2 separate regions of the Homo sapiens genome follow, and region 1 is linked to region 2. The links are contacts of gene promoters, found by promoter capture Hi-C in human tissues and cell types (Jung and others, 2019). All regions are on one chromosome and are shown on one strand. Each heading gives the region's core, a stretch centred on a gene start or on the middle of the fragment in contact. The rest is flanking DNA. Distances are from core to core; before and after follow the strand shown. Region 1 overlaps LOC105372706 (a long non-coding RNA gene). Region 2 holds the start of TAF4 (TATA-box binding protein associated factor 4).

The links. The method cuts DNA at HindIII sites, captures the fragments that hold promoters and counts their contacts. A contact is called where the count stands out against the background at its distance.
Region 1: a fragment that was not itself captured here is called in contact with the fragment with the promoter of TAF4 in region 2 in 1 of the 25 tissues and cell types used here (thymus).

Annotation. Positions count from the first base shown.
Region 1 is chr20:62,098,029-62,105,061 of GRCh38, reverse strand. It overlaps LOC105372706 (a long non-coding RNA gene), which reads left to right. Exons shown (of 3, transcript XR_936963.2): 3 at 2,179-3,919. Among named protein-coding and RNA genes, the nearest start is that of LSM14B, 21 kb to the left of the region's middle. The HindIII fragment of the contact is 5,244 bases long and covers 2,953-7,033 here.
Region 2 is chr20:62,062,452-62,069,763 of GRCh38, reverse strand. TAF4 (TATA-box binding protein associated factor 4) reads left to right here and starts at 3,883. Exons shown (of 15, transcript NM_003185.4): 1 at 3,883-5,313. The coding sequence starts at 3,954. It overlaps MIR3195 (microRNA 3195), which reads right to left and starts at 4,962; the gene lies at 4,879-4,962. It overlaps LOC105372705 (a long non-coding RNA gene), which reads right to left and starts at 3,310. Exons shown (of 2, transcript XR_936960.3): 1 at 3,073-3,310; 2 at 1,229-2,822. RefSeq lists enhancers at 2,594-3,107, 4,136-4,650, 4,651-5,164, 5,165-5,679, 5,680-6,193 and silencers at 3,103-3,482, 3,743-3,852, 4,113-4,202. The HindIII fragment of the contact is 19,572 bases long and covers 1-7,312 here.

The DNA.
Region 1 (7,033 bases), core at 4,325-6,824, 34 kb before region 2:
GCTGAGTCCAAGTCCTTACAGGCAGTCCCTCCTGCCTCCCGTGTATCCCTCACTCCCACCTCCCCCAACACCTAACTCTTCCTCCTTTCCCAAGGGCTCCCTCCCACCTCCCCCTCCTTTTCTCCACCTCCCCTGCCTCCCACCTCCTCTTCCCATTCCACCCATCTCTTGTCTCCTTCCTTCCACACGGCTCCTCCCCCGGCCCCCCTGGGCTCCCTTCCCTTCTGCTGAGTCCTCTCCTGGGAACTTCAGCTTTCCCCTCTCTTCAGAGCCATCCCTAGTAGCCCCCAAGTATCCTGCAATTTTGTCCACTCTAAACCCCCCTCCCGTAACCCCCTATCCCCGGCAAGCTTGCCTCCTGTTTTCTGCAAACGCCAGAGGAACTGCCCCTGCAATCACTGCCATTCTGCCACAAGCTGATGCTGTCGTGGTCAAGGTCACCCATGACTTCCTGGAGATTAAGTCCCTTAAGCTGTCCTCTGGGGTGGGGAGGGGCAGCTCGGCCACAGTCCCCCCTCCTACTGCTGCCGGGCTCCCCAACATCCCCTGGTTTCCTCTCTCTGCTGGCCCCACTTCTAGTCTCCCTCGGGTTCCTCCTGGGGCTCAGCGCCCAGTCCTGGCCTGGCCATGTGCAACCTCACCACGTGGGGGCTTCTCCCTGAGCTGCAGCCCCCATGGCTCCCGGACCGCAGGTTCCCGTCCCCCTGGGGCTGCGTGCAAAGGACTGCAGTTCTGATGCCAGGGATGCAGATCTGTCTCCACCCGCCCCAGTGGCATCGGTCCCCACCACCAGTGCTCAGGCAAAGGCCCTGGAGCTCTCCATGACCCCCACGTCGTTCTCTCACAGCTGGGGCCAGGAAATCTCAATGCCTTGACTTTCAACACCTATGCAGAATCCAACGACACCTAACCTGCAGCCACACGGCCCCCGCCGCGGCCACCTTGCTTGTGTTACAGGAGGAGCCTCTGCCTGGCCCTCCTCTGCCCTGGCCCCTCACCTGGTGCACACAAGGCCAGGGGGGATCCCTTCCGGAATGTGGAGAGGCCTGGGGATCTGCCCAACCGCCCACCTCCCTGTTCCTCCCCCTTGAGGTGCCACTCGGGTCCCCCTGCTGTCCCCTGAGGACACTCCTGCCTTGGTGCCCTCTCATCTGCTGCCCCTGCCTGGAGACTCTTCCTCCAGACCCCACGTGGCTGGGCCTCAGCCTCCTCTGCTCTCGGAGAGGCCACCCGGCTCAAATGGCAAGCAGCTCCTCCCTGCCACCCTGGGTCCACCCTGCACTCAACCCATCTTTGCCTCATGTTCTTTCTGGCTCCCCGGCTGGCATGCCTACCCCGTGAGGGTGGCATGCGTCCCCAGCTCCCACAGCAGGCACGGAGGGGCACCAGCCCAGGCCTGAGGAGTGAAGGGCTCCGAGGCTGCCCCTGCACAGTGGAGGGGAGAAGGGGCCTAGAGCTGCCCCACAGTCACCCTAACTCCCTCGGCCCAGGGGTCATAGACTCACTAGTAGGAACGGTGCTAATGCTGGGGAGCGGGCAGATTTGAGGGGCACAGATCCTACCCCAGGGGGTGGGGCAGTTGTCACCCCAGGCCATTTTTTAAAAATTAAAAGTAAATTTTTATTTTACAGATAAATACATTGACACTCAGAAAAATGAAGTGGCTTGTCAAGAAGCCCCAGCTCTAAGCAGACAGACAATGCTGCTTTGTGGGAACTCGGCTCCAGAGCTGTTTTTTCTTTTTTTGAGACGGAGTCTCACTCTGTCGCACAGGCTAAGTGCAGTGGTGCGATCTCAGCTCACTGCAACCACCGCCTCCTGGGTTCAAGTGATTCTCCTGACTCAGCCTCCCGAGTAGCTGGGATTACAGGCATGCACCACCATGCCCAGCTAATTTTTTGTATTTTTAGTGGAGACAGGGTTTTACCGTGTTGGCCAGGCTAGTCTTGAACTCTTGACCTCAGGTGATCCACCTGCCTTGGCCTCCCAAAGTGCTGGGATTATAGGCGTGAGCCGCTGTGCCTGGCCCAGAGCTGGTTTTTAAGAGGAGCTGTGTGTTAGGCTGTGGGGTTTTTTTTGTTGTTGTTTCTTTTTTTTTTTTTTTTTGCATTGCTATAAAGAGATACCTGAGGCTGGGTAATATAAAGAAATAAGTTTAATTGGCTCACGGTTCTGCAGGCTGTACAAGCATGGCATCGCCAGCTGCTCGGCTTCCGGGGGTCCTCAGGGAGCTTCCACTCAGGCAGAAGGGGAAGCAGGAGCAGGCACATTACCCGGCGAGAAGAGGAACAGGAAAGAGTGCGGGGCGGTGCCACACGCCTCTAAACAATCAGATCTTGGAGAACTCACTATGGCAGGACAGCACCAAGCCACGAGGGATCTGTCCCCAGGACCCAGACACCTCCCGCCAGGCCCACTTCCAGCACTGGTAGCCACAGTTCAACAGGAGATTTGGAGGGGATGAACATCCAACCTATAGCAAGCTGGAAGTCTGAATGTGACGAGAAGTCTCCTGATTTTGTTTGTCGGCTACTCCTACAACTGCCCCATAACACTGTGCCCCGGATTCTTCCCGAGGTGGGAGGACCGAGGGCAGAGGCTCCTGGCCCAGTCACCCAACCCCACTTCCGGGCTTCAGCTCTTGGGCCAGGTGGGCACACTCTGTCTTCTTTTTCTTGTGCAAGTGACATCCCAGGTGCCATTTCTCGAGGTTGCCAGGCTTCCCAGCCTCTGGCTCCTGCTTGTGTCTTTGTAGGGGAGGTGGCTATGATGGTGACAGCACATTCGAAGCAGCAGTGGTTACAGTTTCCTTCTAAAAATACATTGAAGACAGAGTCAAATGTAAGGGGGTGACTTCTGGTTCAGCACAGCGTGCAGAGCACACGCTTCTCCCTGGATCTTGGACCACAGAGGGGACACTGCTGACCTTGCTCCTCTGGGGCATCCCCTCCCTAGACTCACGGGAGGACCACAGAGGACACGGCTGACCCTGCTTATCTGTGGGCATCTCCTCTCTGGCTCAGCTGGAAGACAGACAGCTGGGCAGTACCAACTGGGCAGACCAGGGAGAGGCAGAGCCCAGGCACACAGGGTGGGGAATCCCCAGGACCCCAGAGGGACTCCATCCAGAAGGCCAGGCAGCTCTGAAGGTGGAGCATGGGGTGGACTGGGAGCTCAGACCCACCCCTAGGAGACTGCTTTTCCTACAGATGCAGGCAGAAGACAGGGGTCCAGGTGCTGCTCTCAGGAGTCAGGGCTGGGAGGTTCTGGGCTGGGGCCAGGGGTAGGCACAGCCTGTGAGAGAGCAAGGCACTGAGGAGGGCCAGGAGATCAGGTCACAGCCACATCCTGAAAGGTGGCCTGAGCCCTTTACTCTGCTCCCTCCCCGAGTGCCAACAGCCTGATGTGTCTCCCGGGTGGGAGGTGGGGGCTCTGTGGAATTGCGCTGGCCTCTTAAGAACCCTGACCACATATTCAGACCTTGCTGCTTCCCCCTCTGAGGTCCACCCTGGAGCAGCCCCTCATCCCCCTACACCCACACTGCTCCACCTCAGCACTTTTGAGCCTCTCATGAAGACACGTGGACCCCAAGGGTCACTGGACTTTGAAGAAGAAAAAGACCCCACACGAAAGACAGATCCCACATCCCCATGCACCAAAGAAGGGAGCTTGGGGGAAAGAGTAGCAACCTGAGGAACAAAAAATATAAAAAAGAAAAAACCTTATTGCTGATACCCTTGGAGAGAGAAGAGAAAACAGCACATCCATGACCTAAGAACAGGATGTAATAAAAAAGGAACAGTGAGAAATTAAGAAAGAGCTCTTGGAAATGAAAAAAAAAAAGCACAAATGAAAACTTCCATAAAAGATAAATTTCTCAGGCGGGGCGTGGTGGCTCACATGTGTAATCTCAGCACTTTGGGAGACCAAGGCAGGTGGACCATCTGAGGTCAGGAGTCCGAGACCAGCCTGGCCAACATGGTGAAACGCTGTCTCTACTAAAAACACAAATATTAGCTGGGCATGGTGGTGGGCACCTGTAATCCCAGCTCTTCAGGAGGCTGAGTCAGGAGAATCACTTGAACCCAGGAGGTGGAGATTGTGCCATGAGCCGAGATTGTGCCACTGTACTCCAGCCTGGGTGACAGAGAGAGACTCCGTCTCAAAAAAAAAAAAGATAATTTTTTCATAAAGTAGAGAAAATGAAATGAAAAATAGGGAAGAAAACATTAATAAGAGCTCCAGAAAGAGAAAACAGAATGGAGAGCATCGCCAAGCAAGTGATTTATGAGGAAACATCCTAAAATGTGGACGTGAGGCTCCAGGTTGAATGAGTGAAGGAAGGCCGGCATGGCATCATGAAATTTCTGAACACAGGACATGAAGCCAACTCTTGGCAGAGCAGGTCCCAGTCCCACGAAAGAGCTGGTGATCTGACTGGCACTGCCTCTCAGGTGGCTGCAGGTGGACAATGTCGGCAGCGGGCAAAACCTTCACAGCCCCGTGGGAAGCTACTCTGCATCCTCGTCCCCCGGGGGACCCTAAGACTGAGGAGGCCTCCAGGCACCTTTCTCAGTGAACTCCTAGAGAATGTGCAGGGAGTGAGCGGGGAGGGCAGTCGGGGGACCCAGGTTCCGCTCAGGACAAACCCCAACAGAGGTGTGGGAGCTCGTTGCCCATGGACAGCAGTGTGAAGAGCAGCCGCCTGGGGAGTCAGGGCCAGGCTGCCCATGAGAGCCCCTGGGAGGATGGGGCTGATGGCTTTCTTGCTCCCCACGTGGAAAGGTGGCCCAGGACACGCTTTCTAGAGTCCCTGGGGAGGTTTGGGATGGGAACAGGCAGACACAGGATAAACTGACCGCAAGAACGACTTACACCCAAAGCCTGGAGGAGTGCGCTGCTCAGGCCTGCGTGGGCCCAGGGGACCACCCTCTGCCGGGCGGGTGAGCAGAGGAAGTGCAGGGAAGCAGCAGCAGGACAGCAGGGCCGTGGGGCTGGGAATCCAGAGCAGGCAGGGCCACGTTCTTCTCTTCGTGGCCTCATCTGTGGCCTCAGATCGTTTTGATGCAGATGCAAAGGATGCCTTAGGAGAGTCAGCTCTGTCGCCATCAGGATTTCCGTCTGTATCAGAGGCAAGGGTGTACCCATGGGAAGCAGAGGTGGGTCCAGGGGTGCACGGAGGAGGGTGGGCTGCTCAGACAGCAAGCAGGTGGTGAGGACAAACCTGAGAGAAGCCGTCTCAGCCAATAGCAGTGGCCACTCAGATCATCCAGTCATTGGTTCATTCATTGATCTGTTGATGGACTGATCCCCCCATCACTGATGTACTGATCCCACAGACACTCATTGAGTGTGGGTCAACATACAATCCCCACGCTGGTGAGCATCGGGGCTGGGGTGGGGCTGGGCACTCTATGGTAAGGGCTCCTTCCTTGGTCTGGGACTGAGGCCTCCTACCTGCTGCACCCTGGATGTACCTCGAGGCTTCCAGGCCAACTCTAGGTGTGTGGTTTAATGGGCCTGGGTGTGGCTGAGTATGGGGTTTTATCCAAGCTTGCCAGGCATTCTAATAAGTAGCCGGGGGTATGAGCTGCGGGTCTAGGGAGAGCGGGGGAAGCTTCAGTGAGAATCTAGGAGGAAGGAGTGGGCAGAGAGGTGGGCTGCAGAGTCCCCTGAAGGCTGGTGTGGGGAGGCAGCTGTGAGGGTCTGAAAGGGGGTGTGGAGGGACAGGCCGGGGAGAGCCAGGAGGAGCCCCCACGGAAGGGCTGGGTTGAGGGAGGGCATGGGAGAGCAGAGCTGGGAGGTTACAGGAGAGCCTGGAGAGGACAGAGGGGACGGCCTCGGCATGGCAGCTGCACCCACAGAGCAGGCAGTACCACATGGCACCTATCGAGTGCTGCCAGATGCCCAGTGACTGAAGCAGGGCTAGTGGGGCGATCTGTAGGCAGGATGTCCATGGGGTCCTGGGTCTTGAAGTGAAGAACATGCTTCTAGACTGTTCTTCACTGCCCTGTTCAGCTTTCCCCTGTCCAAGACGCCGGCTCCCAACAGGTCGGGGGGTGACCTGGAATGGCGTGGAAATCCTCACCAGCTGGAAGATGGTGGAGTTGGGTCCAACCCAGCAGCCACCCCCTCCACCATGAAGTGGCAGGAGGTGAGTTCTGGGGAAAGCTGGTTGGTTCTAAGCAGCACCCTGTCTGTGGCAGGACAAACCCACCTGACCCAGTTCTGTGCTATTTTTTTCTTTTTTCTTCTTTTTTTTTTTTTGAGATGGAGCCTCCACTGTCACCTGGGCTGGAGTGCAGTGGTACAATCTCGGCTCACTGCAACCTCCGCCTCCCAGGTTCAAGCGGTTCTCCTGCCTCAGCCTCCTGAGTCACTGGGATTACAGGCGCCCACCACCGTGCCCAGCTAATTTTTTCTATTTTTAGTAGAGATGGGGTTTCACCATGTTGACCAGGCTGGTCTTGAACTCCTGACCTCGTGATTCACCCGCCTCGGCCTCCCAAAGTGCTGGGATTATAGGCGTGAGCCACCGCGCCCGGCCTGTTCCATTTTTAAACTCCCAGCTTGCGGGACTCCTTCACCATCACCTTTTGATCTCCCTGGAAGACAAGGGTTTTTTTGGTTTCTTTTTTCTTTTTCTTTTTTTCAAGAAGGAAATGTTCTAAAACAAAAGATTTGTCTAGGCCTACATCTCCTTTTCCACAAGATTCACCTGGGAGGAGGTGCAGGCCGGGCGCCGCTGCAGCATCTTTTCCTGCCGTTCACTCTGGTGCGGGAAGGGACGCTGGGGAGCCTGTGACTGAGGGAACAGTGGACCCCAGGCAGGCCCCTCCCCAACGGCACGCTGCAGGTCCAGCTTTGCTGGAGCCCTACGCTCGTCCTGGCTGCAGGGTCTGTCCTGAGCAGCCCGTGAGGCCGTCGGGGCCCTACCTGGCTCCTCTCCTGCTTCCTCCTGGCCAGTGTCCAAAGAGCCCCAGCCCCAGGCCCAGGTCCCCACCCTGGGCTCCCACGGATCTGGGCTCCAGCA
Region 2 (7,312 bases), core at 2,634-5,133:
GACCCTGGCGAGAGAGTCCTGGCCGAGCAGATCTGAGAATCCTCATTTTCTTGGGAAAGCAGGGCAGGGGTTGGAGGTGTCTTGGCCAGTGGACTTCTCTACTCCGGAACTCTCAAGTCACAGGCTACTGTCTCAGGCTCCAGCCTCCCCAGACTTGTGTCCCAGGGTGAAGGGGCCAGGCTAAGTGCCTCTTACCAAAGGTCTCCCTGTAAGTGAACAGTAAGTAGCCATCCCGTATACTAGCTTGAATAGTGTCCCCTCAAACCATATCCACCAGAACATGAGGATGTGACCTTATCTGGAAGCAGGGGCTTTGCAGACATAATTGGTAAAGGATCTCATGATGAAATCGTTTTGGATTTAGGGAGGTCTTGAATCCAATGACTGGTATCCTTATAAAAGGAGAGGACACAGACACACAGGGAGAAGGTCAGGAGAAGACAGAGACTGGAGTGATGTGACCACAAGCCCAGGAATGCTTGGAGCCACCGGAAGCTGGAGGAAGCAGGAAGGATCCTCCCCTAGAGCCTCTAGAGGGAGTGCAGCCCTGCCCACACCCTGGTTCTGGCTTCTACAGCTGTGAGAATCCACCTGTTGTTGAAGTTGCATACGTTTGTGATCATTCGTTAAGGCAGCCTTGAGAAACGCATCCCTCTGCATTTACAGAGCAATTAGGTGGCCACAAGTTTCTCCCTGGGATGTGGATTCATTTGTGACCAGAGACATCCCCCCTGAGTCTGCAAGACTGACGAACGCTGCCAGCGGGGCTGGTGGACACCCCAAAAACATTCAGCTGCTATCTAGCTGCACGCCTTTTTCTTTGCGGAGTGGGTGGGGGGAAGGGGTCTCATTCTGTCGCCCAGCCTGGAGCGCAGTGGCACAATCATAGCAGCACGATCACAGCTCACTTGTAGCCTTGAACTCCAGGGCCCAAGTGATCCTTCTGCTCCAATCTCCCAAATAGCTGAGACCACAGGTGCACAACACCACGCTTGGCTAATTAAAAAAACCTGTTTTTAGTAGAGACCGTGTCTTGCTTTGTTGCCCAGGCTGGTCTTGAACTCCTGGGCTCAGACCATCCTCCTGCCTCAGCCTCCTAAAACCCTGCAGTTATAGGCGTGAGCTGGCGCTGGCTTTTTTTTTAAAAAATTGTTTTATGATGAGGGCTGTCAGGCAGACAATAAAAGCACAGGTCACCTAACAAACACCACAGAACTTTCACACAGCCTGCAGCTTGGAAATCACTGATTCCCTTTATTCTTAGATTTGTTTTATTCTTAATGTGTCTTAAACTTAATTCAAAACTTGTTTTTATTATTTTTTATATTTAAGTGAGCGTGTCTGATGCTCTATTTTATTTAAAAATACAAGACCCTGCTTAGTAAACTTGGAAGGCCCACTGAGCTGCCAGCCGCCGAGGCCACCTCTTTGCCCACAGCCTGGCAGCAAACATTTTTCCGGGTTGAAACAGTGCTTATGATTAACATTTGTTACAATTCCCCCTTTTCTCTTTTTATGCTGGGTGAGATTTTTCTTTCAAACTACACAAGTCCTAACTGCTTGGGGCAACAACTAAAATCACAGAGATACTAAAATTTGGCGGGAGGCCCCCAGGGTGACTCCCCACCACATGAACATTAGGAGGGGAAGTCACGTGCTGTCCTCACCCGCCTCCCCTCCCCCCCCCCCCGGAAGGCAGTGCTCCTGCAAACCCCAGACATAGAAGAGCTGCCTGGCTGTCTGCGGCTCCCACTTTCCCCAGGGCCTTCTGGTGCCCAACACCCTCCTTGCAAGGGAAGCTGGAATAGGTGGGCACAGACCCTTAACTTCTCGCAGTTCCTGCAGCTGCCAGGCTGGACGGTTCCCCAGAAGATCCTGCGAACACGTTGGAATGAAAGACTCCTGGCGGGGCCTTGGAGAAGAGGAGTCACCACTGTGCGTAGATGGCAGGAGACTCATTACAGATCTCAGTGGAGTAGCAGCGGACTTGAAGAGTGGAGGCCTGAGCGTGGGAACCTTCAGTTACCCCAGCCTTTGGGACCCTGGGGGCCTTGGAACCTGGTCTGTTTCCTGCGAGTCCTGCGTTCTGCTTCTGCCCCGACTCCAATCTGAGGGGTCTGTGGGTATGGGCTGTGCAGTGAGCCTGGTGCGCCCCACCTTGCAAGTTGTGCGTGGGGCCAGTTAGCCTGCCTGTGCTTTGACCTGCTTTAAAAATGTTCTAATTAGTTGTCAACACTCAAAAATTAAAAATCCCGAGATTTAATCATCACTTTATATTTCTGTTCTTTCTGGAAAACTCAGACTGTCCCCCTACTGAGCTCAAGGTGCTCCGTAGGTGTACCCACAGGGGCCCTCCCCGCCATACTCAGCTTGCTTCATTCATTTCCTTTCCTGCCTTCTGGGAGCCAAAGTTCAGGTACAAAACTCCAGCTGTACGTTTGCAGTGATTTCCCCCAAACACTGTTCCCCTATAGGGGAGGCACCTCTCCTAGGCTCCGTCCTCAATGCTCATTGGCTGCTGCTGCTGTCGAGAAACAAGCCTGGGGTGAAGTCCCGTATTCCAGTTATCAGTAAGTCCATTCCTTTGCAAGGCTACAGTTCGAACAGGCACAAGGGTCCAGTTCGGGTCTGCTTTCGAGACTAGCAGTCTCCTTTGTTAAAGCAATTAAAAAAATCATTTTCTTTGTCAGCAACGTCATTCATCGTCCCGAGGTCTCTGCTTATTGCGGCGCTGTCTTCAGCTGCGAAGACTGACCCTGTGGCCTCTTGGCCCCAGTGAGGTCCGAGGCAAGGAAGCGTCTCTCTGAAACCTATTCTGGGCTCTTAGGAAGAAATGAGAGAAAGGAAAACCACTAGAAATGTCCAATAACACCATCTTTTGGTTGGAAAATAAAACACGCAGAAAGAGGGGACTGGAACTTTTACTGAAGTATTTCTAGAGAGAAGGTGCTTGGGAACACTTTAGGTAACTTACTCCCCTCCCCCAGCAGAAGGTAAAAAAAGCTACTTCCAGACGTGCCGGCTTCAGGCTCGGGAACTTCGTTTGGCGCCTGGCAAGCACCGTGCTCTTACCTACGGGCTTATACGACACTCCTGTCTCCAAGGCAGCTGGGTGCGGGGACAGTCAGCCCGGGGCGGCTGGGTTTATTGATTAAAAATGGAGGGAAGGGCCAGGGGTGGTCACGATTGGAGGGCGAGAAGAGCCGTGCGCGCAGGACCCCTCCCCACCGCCCGGGACCGGCTGAGCCAGAGGCGGACCCAGCTTCCCCGCGGCGGCTTGGAGGGGCCGGGCGCCGGTCCCCGTCCCCAGGGCGCGCTGCGACAGTCCCCTCCCCGTTCCCGCCCGCCTCCCAGGCCCATCCACTCCAGGGCCTGCGCGCCGCCCGGCGGCGCCCCGGCATCCCCGCGCGCTGTTCCCCGGGCCTCGGACGGGCCCTGCGCCGCCGCTGCCACCGCGCACGGCGCCCGCCCGGCGCTCCCGTCAGCGCCGCCGCAGCCATTTTGGAGCGAGCCGAGACAAAGAGCGAGGCCCCGTCGCCGCCCCGCGCCCGCCTCGGCCCGGCCCAGCGCACCGTTCCCGCATCCCGCGCCCCGCCCGGCGGCCCCCTCCCCGTCCGCCACCGCCCCGGCGCCCGCGCCCCTGAGCTCCAGCCCCCGCGCTTCCCGCCGCTGCTGCCGCACCCCGGCCGACCGCCCGCGCCCCGGCCTCTAGCGCTCGCAGCCATTGGCCGCGCCTTTTAAGCGCGCGCCGCAGCCAATCGCCGGGCGCCCGCGGTCTCCGCGCCTGCGCAGGGCCGCCACCCCCGCTCCCCCGCCCCCCGGCCGCGCGCCCCCGCCCCCCGCCGGCCGCGCGCCGCCCCCCGCCCGCCCAGCGCCCGCCCCAGTCGGAACCTCCTCCTCGCCCAGGCGCGCTCGGCCCGAGCGGCGGCGGCGGCGGCGGCCGAGGAAAAAAGATGGCGGCGGGCTCGGATCTGCTGGACGAGGTCTTCTTCAACAGCGAGGTGGACGAGAAAGTGGTGAGCGACCTGGTGGGCTCGCTGGAGTCGCAGCTGGCGGCCAGCGCGGCCCACCACCACCACCTCGCGCCGCGCACGCCCGAGGTGCGGGCCGCGGCCGCCGGCGCGCTCGGGAACCATGTTGTGAGCGGCAGCCCGGCCGGAGCCGCGGGCGCAGGGCCGGCCGCCCCCGCCGAGGGCGCGCCCGGAGCGGCGCCGGAGCCGCCCCCCGCAGGTAGAGCGCGGCCGGGGGGCGGGGGGCCGCAGCGCCCGGGCCCCCCCTCACCGCGCCGCCCCCTTGTCCCCGCAGGGCCCGCGCCGCCCGCCGCGAAGCTGAGGCCGCCGCCCGAGGGCAGCGCGGGGTCCTGCGCCCCGGTGCCCGCCGCCGCCGCCGTCGCCGCGGGGCCCGAGCCCGCCCCCGCCGGCCCCGCCAAGCCCGCCGGCCCCGCCGCGCTGGCCGCCCGCGCCGGCCCCGGCCCCGGGCCCGGCCCCGGCCCCGGCCCCGGCCCTGGCCCTGGCAAGCCCGCCGGCCCCGGCGCCGCGCAAACTTTGAATGGGAGCGCCGCGCTGCTGAACTCGCACCACGCCGCCGCACCTGCTGTCAGCCTGGTCAACAACGGGCCCGCCGCGCTGCTGCCGCTGCCCAAGCCCGCCGCCCCCGGCACTGTCATCCAGACGCCCCCCTTCGTGGGCGCCGCCGCGCCCCCCGCGCCCGCCGCGCCCTCGCCCCCCGCCGCCCCCGCGCCCGCCGCCCCCGCCGCCGCCCCGCCCCCGCCACCCCCCGCGCCCGCCACTCTGGCCCGGCCGCCCGGCCACCCCGCCGGACCCCCGACCGCCGCGCCCGCCGTGCCGCCCCCCGCCGCCGCCCAGAACGGGGGCAGCGCCGGGGCAGCCCCCGCCCCCGCCCCGGCCGCCGGGGGCCCCGCGGGGGTCAGCGGCCAACCCGGGCCCGGCGCGGCGGCTGCGGCGCCGGCGCCGGGGGTCAAGGCCGAGTCGCCCAAGAGGGTGGTGCAGGCGGCGCCCCCGGCGGCGCAGACCCTGGCGGCCAGCGGCCCGGCCAGCACGGCGGCCAGCATGGTCATCGGGCCAACTATGCAAGGGGCGCTGCCCAGCCCGGCCGCCGTCCCGCCGCCCGCCCCCGGGACCCCCACCGGGCTGCCCAAAGGCGCGGCCGGCGCAGTGACCCAGAGCCTGTCCCGGACGCCCACGGCCACCACCAGCGGGATTCGGGCCACCCTGACGCCCACCGTGCTGGCCCCCCGCTTGCCGCAGCCGCCTCAGAACCCGACCAACATCCAGAACTTCCAGCTGCCCCCAGGTGAGTGGCCGCACGGGGCGGGAGGGAAGGGCGGCTCCCAGCAGCGCCAGCTGCCAGTTCCAGGAAGTTCTCCGCTGGTGGAATGCTAAGGTCATCTGTCCCGTAGGCCCGTGGCTGGAGCAGGCCGAGGGGCAGTCTCTACCCAGGTGCGGGGCCAGCCCGGGTGGCTGTCTGCGAGTGAGCCAGAGGGAGTCGGCATAGCCTGCGTCCCTGTCGCTGTCCCTGACGTCCGCGCTGGCTGCCTGTGCCTGGGGCTGGTCTGTTTCGGAGTGGCTCAGCCAGGACTCTTAGTGGAGTGGTCCTTACCTGCTCCCGCCCTATGCGTCCCTGCCCGGGTTGGTAGGCTCAGCGCAGGGGCTCCCTGGGCCAGGCGATGGGGTCTGCAGAGCTGAGGGCAGTACCTGGGGCTGTGAGTGGCAGCAGCTGTCCCCTGCTCAGTTCTGCAGTTAGGCGTGTGGCCTGTGTCCCCACTTAGCCTTTCTGCCCCTTGGTGACCCTGGGCTCGAGCCTCTTCAGTCTCCAGGCGAGGACGGGGGCGCGACGCCCCCTCCTTGAGGCTCGGGAACTCTGGATGGAAGGCTTGGGCTCCTCTGCTGCCACCAGGCAGGGAGAGATGTCAGGCGCATCCTGCGAGAGTCCTCCCGGCGCGCAGCCTTGCTGAGAGCCACGCTGTGGAGTAGGGTTTCAGCACCGTGTGTGTCACTGTCTCTTCCAGAGCTGCGTTGGTGCCTAAAGGAAGGAGCGCCTAGCTACTCTGGTTGCTGCCCCCTCGGGAGGGCAGTGGGAGGGCGGTGGCAGCAGATGTTCTCGCTCCGTGCAGGGGTCTCGGGGCGATACTGGCTATGCTGCGGATGCCTGGGGCTCCGACGCCACTTCCGCCTGGCAGTTCTCACGCTCCTGTCTAGTCTGCTGTCTCTGCGACTCCTCAGGGCCCCTCAAGTTTGACAGGAAAGATTGCCTGGCCAGCATTGCTGCTTTTGTCTGGGGCTCCCCGTCCCTCCCCAGCCGCCGTGGTGGGTGCTGGGCAGGGGAGCTCCTCCCCGGCCTGTGGTGACGCGTGCCGTGCAGTTGTAGCAGCGCGGTGGCAGCAGTAGTAGGAACTGCAAGGAGAGCGTGGGTCCCTCCTGCGTCCCCTCTCTGAATGGAGCTATTGGTCACTTTGACAGGGTTGCAGAATCTTCAGAAGTGAAAGGATTTCTTGTCCAAGTATGTGAGGTTCGGGGCTGGTGGTCAGACTCTGGACAGGGCAGGGGTGGGGAAAGCCTGTCTGGGCGGCTGCTAGGCTGCAGTGCTCCAGGGAGGAAGAGAGCTGTGAAGCTACTTCCCGGGGTTGCTGAGACGCCCTTTACGACAAGCTTTTGGGGTACTGAAGCGTTTGTAGGGGTGTTTTGCCAGAGGCTTGGTTTTGCTGTTATGTGTATGTTGACCTTTTAGTAGGAAACGTGGCTGATCTTTAGTAACGTTGTAAAAAGATGTTTGATGGCTGTGATCTATTATGTAAACTGTCACAATGCTTTATTTATAAAAATGTTTTTCCAGAGGTCCCACGTGTCTCAGCGCAGGCCAGGTGCCTGTTGCACCCCTTTGGGTAGGTATTGGACTCTGTCTTGTGGGGCTGGCCAGGTCCTCTTGCTCTGAGCCACTGCAGAGGTAAAGCCTCATCTGTCTCTTTCTTCTGGGAGGAGGTGAAGGAATACGTGGTTGGAAGAGGGCATCTCTGCTGTGTTTATCATGAGTGATCCTGGGACTCACTTCCATCTTCTGTTTTAAGATCAGTTTTAGGGTCGGGTGTGTTTGATGAAGAGACAACTTGAAAAACAACTGTAGGAGTGTTGACTGTGCGTGATTCCTGTGTGTGAGGACAGAGGAACAGCTCACACAGACGTTTGGGTGGCAGTGCTGAGAGCGGTGCTTTCAAGGAGCCGAATGCTACTATCTAAAAAAGTGAGAGATTTACCCCATCTCTTCATGGCCTCCTGCAGTTGATCTACTGATGAGG